Linked DNA regions of Homo sapiens: all the other regions are linked to region 3. Evidence: promoter capture Hi-C in 16 types of primary human blood cells and fetal thymus (Javierre and others, 2016). All regions are on one chromosome and are shown on one strand. The core of a region is centred on a gene start or on the middle of the fragment in contact, and the rest is flanking DNA. Distances in the headings are between cores, read along the strand shown. Region 1 overlaps LOC105378379 (a long non-coding RNA gene). Region 2 overlaps ZMIZ1-AS1 (ZMIZ1 antisense RNA 1). Region 3 holds the start of POLR3A (RNA polymerase III subunit A).

Region 1 (2,819 bases), core at 84-2,583, 630 kb before region 3:
CAATGCAAATTCAGGTTCCCTGGCACTGGACAAATCACAAGCTGTTGAAGAAGCTGGAGTAATTACCAAAACAATCCTAGGAGCCCTGGGGAAAATGAACATTATCTGGTCTACAGCCCATTCTTCTGCCTTGTCTTCCCCACTTTCAGCCTGGTTCACCCCCCACCCCACTCAGCTTCAATACATAGTTGCTGGGTTTTGAGCAAGGACTGCATGCCAAACAAGGTGCTAACTGACGTATATCATACTTTAACATTTATAGTCTTCAAAGTCCTGTGGGGCAGGGGCCACAATTCTACATATCACATGACTTCACTTTAAATACCCTCTCCTCCTGGAATTTCTGAGTTTCACCATGCTGGGGCTTGGGTGAGGTTCACCTTTGTGGTATAAATGGAAAAGAGGGATTATTTCAGCAAGTGACAAATGTCAAGACAAAGGATGGCTTAAAACTATTAAAAAAAAGACAAAGAGGGCACTTTAGAAGCATTCAATGTGTTAATTACAAGGCAAATTACATTTATTGAAACTACTTCTTGAAAACCTCCAAGGCAGGGTTAAGATATATATCCAAAAGCATTAAAATCACACTTCCTCCCATATATTCAAATTCATGCATGCAGATTCTCAACAGTCTAACCTTTCATACAATTTTCTCAAAGCAGTTGGTTAATACTGTACATACACACCATACATACACGTGTGTGTAATGATTATATAGAGTTTAATGGTTATATCAACTTTAATGGTAAGAAGAGGACATGTGTCCCTCCATGATTCCTACCTTCCTTCCACCACCATTTCTAGTTTCTAATTTGGAGAGTAACACATCACTGCAATTATGCTCATATCTAGGCTGTTTCAACAAGATATATACAGATTTTTATATCCTAAGCATTTGCAGCAAAAAAAATTATTCTCTACAAGTTCATTCAGCTTAAGGAGGCAAATGTTTCTCTCTAGCCACTATGAGTTTTTGAGATAAATGTATAGCCTTGTCTTCTTTGCCCTGCCCATCGTTCATGAAAATCATGCTATGCTAACTGTTGCTTCAAACTTTTAATTATTGTGAATTTCCTCATTAATTTATTCATCCTTTAAATGTTTATTTAGGACCTATTATGTGACAATATATTGAACTAGGAACTGGTGTTGCCAAAGATAAATAAGGTGTATGTGGTCTTGTTTGTTTGTTTGTTTGTTTGTTTGTTTCTTTATTTCTTTGATGGAGCTTCACTCCTGTCACCCAGGCTGAAGTACAGTGGCACAATCTCGGCTCACTGCAACCTCTGCCTCCTGGGTTTAAGTGATTCTCCTGCCTCACCCTCCTGAGCAGCTGGGATTACAGCACCTGCCACCATGCCTGGCTAAATTTTGTATATTTAGTAGAGACAAGGCTTCACGAAGTTGGCTAGGCTGGTCTTGAACTCCTGACCTCAGGTGATCCACTTGCCTTGGCCTCCCAAAGTGCTGGGATTACAGACGTGAGCCACCGCGCCAGGCTGTGATCTTGTTTCTAAGTAGCTCAGGGTCTAGAGCTTATAGAAGGCCACTTTAGCTTGAACCAATTACATGTGTTTAGGGTTCAGTAAAGTAAAGGACTCTGAAGAGGCAGGCTTGAGTTCAAGTCCTAGAGGCACTATTTAGTAATTATAAGGCTCAGTTTCCTCATCAGTAAAATGGGAGTAAGTGACAGTATAAACATACAGTGTAATGAGCACTCTTTGTATAGCATTTTAGAATCCTTTTATGCTTCTTGAATGTCATGCATGTACCAATTTAAATTTTTACTTTAAAAAATGAACAAGCAGACACCGTTTTGAAATGAATGCTGACATGGAATGGATCCCAGGGACTCCTTTTTCCTCCTGCTCTCTGTCCAAGGACAATTCACCTATCTTGTCTGATTCCCGCTCTCTTCATCAGACAAAAGGTGAAATTGAACAAGTGACCTTTAAGGTAGCTTTGATATTGGAAGGTCAATGATTTTATTTGTAGGTAACAAATCACAAACCCCTCTGGTGGTCTTCCTATGGGCAGGAAATCTGATTGGGGTCAGCCCAGTGGGGTAGAAGAAGGGTTATGATGGGTGGGCGTTGCCTAGCGGCTTGTGAGTGATGTATCCAAAGAGGTGGCAAGAGAGGGAGGCAAGGCCAGGCATTGAGAGACATAAGATCATGTATCAAACTTGACGGGTGAAATAGAGTTTAAATAGAAGAGCAAAATCACAGTTGGTAGCACAGGAGTACAAAAGATTGATGTAGGGTCCAGGCAGATGAAGCCTGTTTCTTCACATGGAAATTTGTTCATTCATTCACTCATCCAACAAATATTTAGTTAGTGCCTATTTAGCCAGTCCATGCTAAGTATTTGGGAAGCAGTATGAACAAATAGGCATGGCCCTTGTCCTCATGAGATTGACAGTCTAGTGAGAGAATCAGACATTTATAAAGAAACTCTTAGGGCTATATAATTATCAGCCCTAATGACTGCTCTCACAGACTATCCCAGGCTGTCCTAGAAGCAGAAAAAGCAGACTAAATCTAGTCTGCAGGCAGGGAACCAGTCCAGGAGGAAGTGACATATAAGCTGTGATATAAAGGATGCACTGGAATTAACTAAGTCAAGTCAAGGGAACAACTTCCATAAATGACATGTCCAGTGAGACTCTATTGTGTATAGATTTGGGTGTTTCCAGCTTAGAATGGAAAGGAGTGGGGAAATTCCTTAAAAGGGCTGATCAAAACAGAAATGTGACACATTTTGTTTTCATCAATAAATGGGCTTATATAAATATACAGAAAGCATCAAAATATTTA
Region 2 (2,791 bases), core at 188-2,687, 940 kb before region 3:
CACATAACCTCTTTGAACCCCTTTTTCCTCTACTTTAAAATGTGCATAGTGACCCTTACTCCATGGAGAGGTTGCAAAAGTTAAAGAGAGAATGCCTATGAGCCCTGAGTATATGTCATGGAATGTACTTGTCATGGAATAGGGGCTCAGGAAAGGACAGTGTACTCTCTGTCTACCCCCAGCCCTGCCTTGAACCCTGATCTCAAGGCCCAGAATTTTGCCTGTCCAAGCCTGTTGGTCCATGACCCAGGGAAGTGCTGGATCCTGTGGACCTTGGCTGGGATTTGAAAACTCAGAAGCAGTCCTACACGGTACATAGGGGTCTCTGAGTCCCAGGGAAGCATGGGGTCTGGGCTGTCCATTAGAGGTAAGCTGGTCTAGGAAGGACAGCTGTGACAGCATCTTTCTGGATCTTTCCTTGTGGGGAGAAGCCTCCACCCCTCAGGTCATACTCTGGCTGTACCTGGGCTGGTCTCCATTTGAGGACAATTTTTTTTTTTTGAGACAGAGTCTTGATGGAGTGCAGGGATGCAATCTCAGTTCACTGCAACCTTGACCTCCTGGGCTCAAGAGAACCTCCCACCTCAGCCTCCCAAGCAACTGGGACTATAGGCATGTGCCACAATGCCCAGCTAATTTTTCTTTTTTTTTTTTTTGTGGAGATGGGGTCTCACTATGTTGCCCAGGCTTGCAGACAAATTTTGTTTGGCCTACGTGAGATTAAAAAAAAAAAAACCATTATTTACAAATGAAGGCATTTCACATGAAAGTGTGAATTTTCAATTTCCCTCAAATAACTGGGGAGTTTGGCCACACTGGGCTCACGTTTTTATGCGGCAACTGTGGGCTGGAGCTGAGCAGCAGAGGCCCCTACAGGCCGGGTGTATGTTCTCCAGTTTACCACAGTCTCCACTGCTCCCTATTGCACTGGTTCTCAAACTTGAGCATATGGGAAAATCCCTTGGAGGGCTTGTTAAAATACAGATTAGTGGACCCCACCCCAGAGTCTCTGCTTCAGTGGGTTTGGGGTGGGCCTGAGAATTTGCCTGAGAATTTCTGACAAGTTCTCGGGTGATACTGCTGCTGCTGGTTTAGGGCCCCATTTTGAGACCTACTGGGCCGCCTGATGCTGAGGCTGACTGGTCATCTCACTTGGCCTGTTACTTTTCTGTATAGTAGGGAAATATTTCTCTGTACACCCAACTCTAGCAAAAGTAGGAAAATTTAAAAGGACCGAGAATATCATTTGTTCTAGCAAAATGGAGAAGTATATATTTCTTTCTTTTTTTTTTTTTTTTTGAGACCGGAGTCTTACTCTGTTGCCCAGGCTGGAGTGCAGTGGTGTGATCCTGGCTCACTGCAACCTCTGCCTCCCGGGTTCAAGTGATTCTCCTGCCTCAGCCTCCTGAGTAGCTATGATTACAGACGTGCACCACCATGCCTGGCTAATTTTCGTATTTTTAGTAGAGATGGGGTTTCAGCATGTTGGCCAGGTTGGTCTCAAACTCCTGATATCAGATGATCTGCCCGCCTCGGCCTCCCGAAGTGCTGGGATAACAGGCGTGAGCCACCGTGCCCCGCCAAAAATATATATTTCTTTGGAGACAGAAAAGATATTCCCTTGTGGTTACTTGCAAACGATTTGCATATATGTCAGATAAACACAACTTCAGGAGCACAGGGAGGCCTGCCCTGAGCATGGCCTGAGGATATGCCACGTGGCCACTCTGTGCACTTGTTCCTTCACATGTCCACCTCACTCGTTGACTTTGTCTGCTTGACCCTGCAGGTGTTTTGAGTGTGTGACCCCGGCCAGCTACAGTTTATTAATTAATTGAACAACCATGATTTGAACCAGTTCTATTGCTGCACTGTGTTAGGATATGAAGACAGTGAATAAGACAGACCTAATCCCTACCCTCCTGAGGCTCCCAGACTATTGGGACAGACAGACAAAACAAATCGAACTAGTAGGTGAAAAAAGGAATTGCACGTTGTGATAACACATCAGGATGCTGAGATGGAGAATAACGGGTTATATGAGGACCTCTTTTAGTCTGGGTGGTCAAAGAAGCCTCTCTAAGGTTCCCATCCTATGAGGGGTGGGATTGGGAAGCAAATGAGATCCAGATCTCTAGAGATCTCACCCCGCTTCAAAGCCCAGCTTGCGTTCACCAAGCACAGGGAGCATCTTGACCTTCTGACCTGTGTGTGCGCGCTCTGACCTCAGCTCTGCCTGCTGCCCTGTACCTCAGGGCCAGCCACACAGAGCCTCTGTTGTTACTCAGTGGGTTCGTGAGGCTCCACGTGTGTTTGAGAGGCCACGCCGCACCCTGGCAGTTTACTTTGTCTCCCTGGACCTCAGAACCTTTAGGGCCATTTTGCCCTACGCTCACGTAGAGATGGGAAACTCAATCCAGTGCTTCTGGTGTTCCCCACTTCCCAGTCAGTCAAAGGGCAGGACTTTTCCTTTCTCTTAACTTTCCTCTGAGCCCAGCCCAAGGCTGAGCACAGAGCAGGGCATGGGACTGGGAGCTGACACTTCTCACATTTGCATCTCCTAAAATGGCTAAAGAATCTTGGCTGGTTACAGCAAACCAGTGGCACATCCTTCCTGTACTGTGCTTAACATCATTCATCAATCATGACCCTTTCCCGTTGAGCCCCCATATAGCATCAGAATCCTTCTCAACACAGGAAACTGATGCCAACGAATTGGAGTTGACTTCTGGGATTAAATTTAATATCAGGTGGGCCTCATCTGGCTTACTGACTAAGTAGAGACCTGAGG
Region 3 (2,849 bases), core at 145-2,644:
AAAGCTAGACTCCCATGATGGCACTGTGATTTCATAACTTTTGCTCTTAACCTCTAGATAAGTCACACACGATCCAACCCTTGTTGGTATAATATTGTAAACATCAGAGCCGGGTGTGGTGGCTCACACCTGTAATCCTATCACTTTGGGAGACTGAGGCGGGCGGATCACGAGGTCAGGGATTCGAGACCAGCCTGGCCAACATAGTAAAACCCCGTCTCTACTAAAAATACAAAAATTAGCTGGGCGTGGTGGCGGGCGCTTGTAGTCCCAGCTACTCGGGAGGCTGAGCCAGGAGAATCGCTTGAACCCGGGAGGCGGAGGTTGCGGTGAGCCGAGATTTCGCCACTGCACTCCAGTCTAGGCGACAGAGCGAGACTCCGTCTCAAAAAAAAAAAAAAAAAAAAAACAAAAAAAACCCATAATGTTGACTATATATATATATATATATATATATATATAGTCAACATTATTTCATGATTAAGTGATGGAGTACCGAAATGAGTTAGAAAAACCTGATATGCCTCGTTTGTCTGTGACATTGTGTTTTGCTAGTGAGGATCCATGGCGTCTGAAAATGAGATAGCGTCCCTTCTTAAAAATTGAAAGTTGTTAAACACTTTTGTTAAGTTCTGTTTTGAGTTTCTCACAAATAATGAGGACTTAGTTCTAATTCTAAGCGCTAAGCCCTGTGGTGATGTGATTTCCTTGCTAGGCTCATGCACTAATATATCACACTAGGATCACCTCCCACAAGTTCTCACAGACTGTAGACAACTTATTTCAAGACATGAATGATCTTTACTTTCCATTCTCCCTTTTCTTCTGTAGATTACCATGGCTGTTTTCACTCTAACAGATTTTCAACTGTTTTTGTAATCAATAATGTAAGTTTAATTCTTCCCCCCTCCCTCCAAATAACTTCATGAACTGGAGGCACATGTGCGCCCATATTTTCCGCTCTGTTTTCCTTTGTTGGTCCTCCACAGATAGTGCCCTCTGTTGGATGGGCCGGTTCATTTTAGCTTCCACCTTCCCTTAAAACAATTAGAAGCTCTTAATTTAGATGGTACTGATGTTAATGATGATGATTTTCCATTTTATGCAAGTTTTGGCCCTCTGCTTGTCTAAAAGCCTTGAGGCAAAGAGTTATATGCAGTTTCTCTGCGGGTGTCTGATTACGTGGAGAAATTGACCAGAAATGGGATTTTTAAAATACAGCACACGCCTCGGTGCGGCTTCCAGTAAGCGCCACCAGGTGACGGTGCGGGGAAAGGGAAAAAAAAAAAAAAAAAAGGCATGCCGGAAGTCTCTCTTGACAGACAGACGCGCGGGCGAGTAGCGGAAGAGGAAGCGGACACGTGGGACACTCTACGGTGGCCGAGAGGATGCCGCAGATGTGTTAGCGGCGAGTCCAGAAGCAGCCCCAGGAGGTGCTGGGGGCATCGTTTCTCTAATCTGGCCTCCCGAGTGCCAAGGAGGCGTCCCGGCAGCGGTCATCATGGTGAAGGAGCAGTTCCGGGAGACGGATGTGGCCAAGAAAATGTAAGACGGAGTAAGAGTGGCCAAAGGGCTGAGAAATAGGGCAAGGGGTCCGAGGTCAGCGGTCCCGGGTCTTGCAGGGTCAGAGATGGGGTGCAATGGGAAGGGGAGGGCCAGTAGTCCATAGGTGTGACCAGCGCCCAGAACTACCAGCGTTGGTCAAAGAGCATTGGTCAGGCTGAGGGGATTTCAGCACCTCGAGAGGTCCCTGGACTTGGGCGGAGAAGTCGGAGTGGCCTGAGCCTTAATGATTTGTGCACCCTGGGCCAAAGCTCGCATTCTCCTGAAGTCATACAATGATCCCTGTTCTTCAGCGAACTATCCCCTGCTGCAGCGAGGGGAGCAATCTGGGGCGGGGACTGTCTCTAATTCTGTCAGCCGCAGAGCGTCTGACACGGAGGCAGTAGTTGCTTACCAAAAGGATGGGGTTGCCCACTAGAAAGCTGTACCACAGGCCGACGGATGGCAGTGTCAGAAATAAAGCTGCTATCCGGACTTTTGCCTTCAGAAATACGTTATTAGGCGGTGGCTCCTTCTTAGAGTTCTCGGTAAGAAAGTGAATCCAGCCGGGCGCGGTGGCTTACTCCTGTAATCCCAGCACTTTAGGAGGCCGAAGCGGGTGAATCTCCTGAGCTCAGGAGTTTGAGACTAGCCTGGGCAACGTGGCGAAACCCCGTCTCTATCAAAAATACAAAAATTAGCAGGCGTGGTGGCGCGCCCTTGTGGTCCCAGCTACTCGGGAGGCTGAGGCCGAAAAATCACTTGAGCCTGGGAGGCAGAGGTTGCAGTGGGCAACCTCCTGCATTCCACCCTGAGTGACAGAGTGAGACGGTGTCTCAAAAAAAAAAGTGAATTCATCATTCTTACAGCAGACACTGAGGAGGATACTGCGCGTTATTCCCAGTGTTGGACGTTAAAGATACGGTCTGAATAAAACTTTTACTGCCTAATCTAGTTGGAGAAGGTACACAAGTCAACACTGGGTACGACAAGTGCAATGACAAGGGTAGGTCCAGGGGGTTTTGAGAGCACATAATGGGTCCAGGCAAAAGAAAGCAGACCAAACTGCTTTTTTCAAGGAGCAGACCTGAGGGAGAGAACACAGGTGATCAGAAGGAAGCAGAAGACTTGAAGCTGTGTTAAGAAGTCATCTTGTAGGCAGTGAGGAACCTTTGAAGGATTTTCAACAGGAGAGTATCTTGATAAGAGTTCTCCTTCTGGAAAATCTCTTGATTCATGGTGGAAAGAATTAGAGGTCGAGAGACCTTGAGACGGATATACAGAATGCCTTGCTTGGGCAGCTGTGT

What was found. The method cuts DNA at HindIII sites, captures the fragments that hold promoters and counts their contacts. A CHiCAGO score of 5 or more calls a contact.
Region 1: a fragment that was not itself captured here is called in contact with the fragment with the promoter of POLR3A in region 3 in 1 of 17 cell types (M2 macrophages); the score reaches 7.0 in M2 macrophages.
Region 2: a fragment that was not itself captured here is called in contact with the fragment with the promoter of POLR3A in region 3 in 2 of 17 cell types (activated CD4 T cells and total CD4 T cells); the score reaches 7.0 in activated CD4 T cells.

What each region holds. Positions count from the first base shown.
Region 1 is chr10:78,661,066-78,663,884 of GRCh38, reverse strand. All of the region lies in intron 2 of LOC105378379 (a long non-coding RNA gene), which reads left to right. Among named protein-coding and RNA genes, the nearest start is that of LINC00595, 400 kb to the right of the region's middle. The HindIII fragment of the contact is 3,792 bases long and covers 1-2,819 here.
Region 2 is chr10:78,969,395-78,972,185 of GRCh38, reverse strand. All of the region lies in intron 5 of ZMIZ1-AS1 (ZMIZ1 antisense RNA 1), which reads left to right. Among named protein-coding and RNA genes, the nearest start is that of ZMIZ1-AS1, 97 kb to the left of the region's middle. RefSeq lists an enhancer at 1-26. The HindIII fragment of the contact is 3,571 bases long and covers 1-2,791 here.
Region 3 is chr10:78,028,060-78,030,908 of GRCh38, reverse strand. It overlaps POLR3A (RNA polymerase III subunit A), which reads left to right and starts at 1,394. Exons shown (of 31, transcript NM_007055.4): 1 at 1,394-1,545. The coding sequence starts at 1,502. RefSeq lists an enhancer at 1,225-1,474. The HindIII fragment of the contact is 13,008 bases long and covers 1-2,849 here.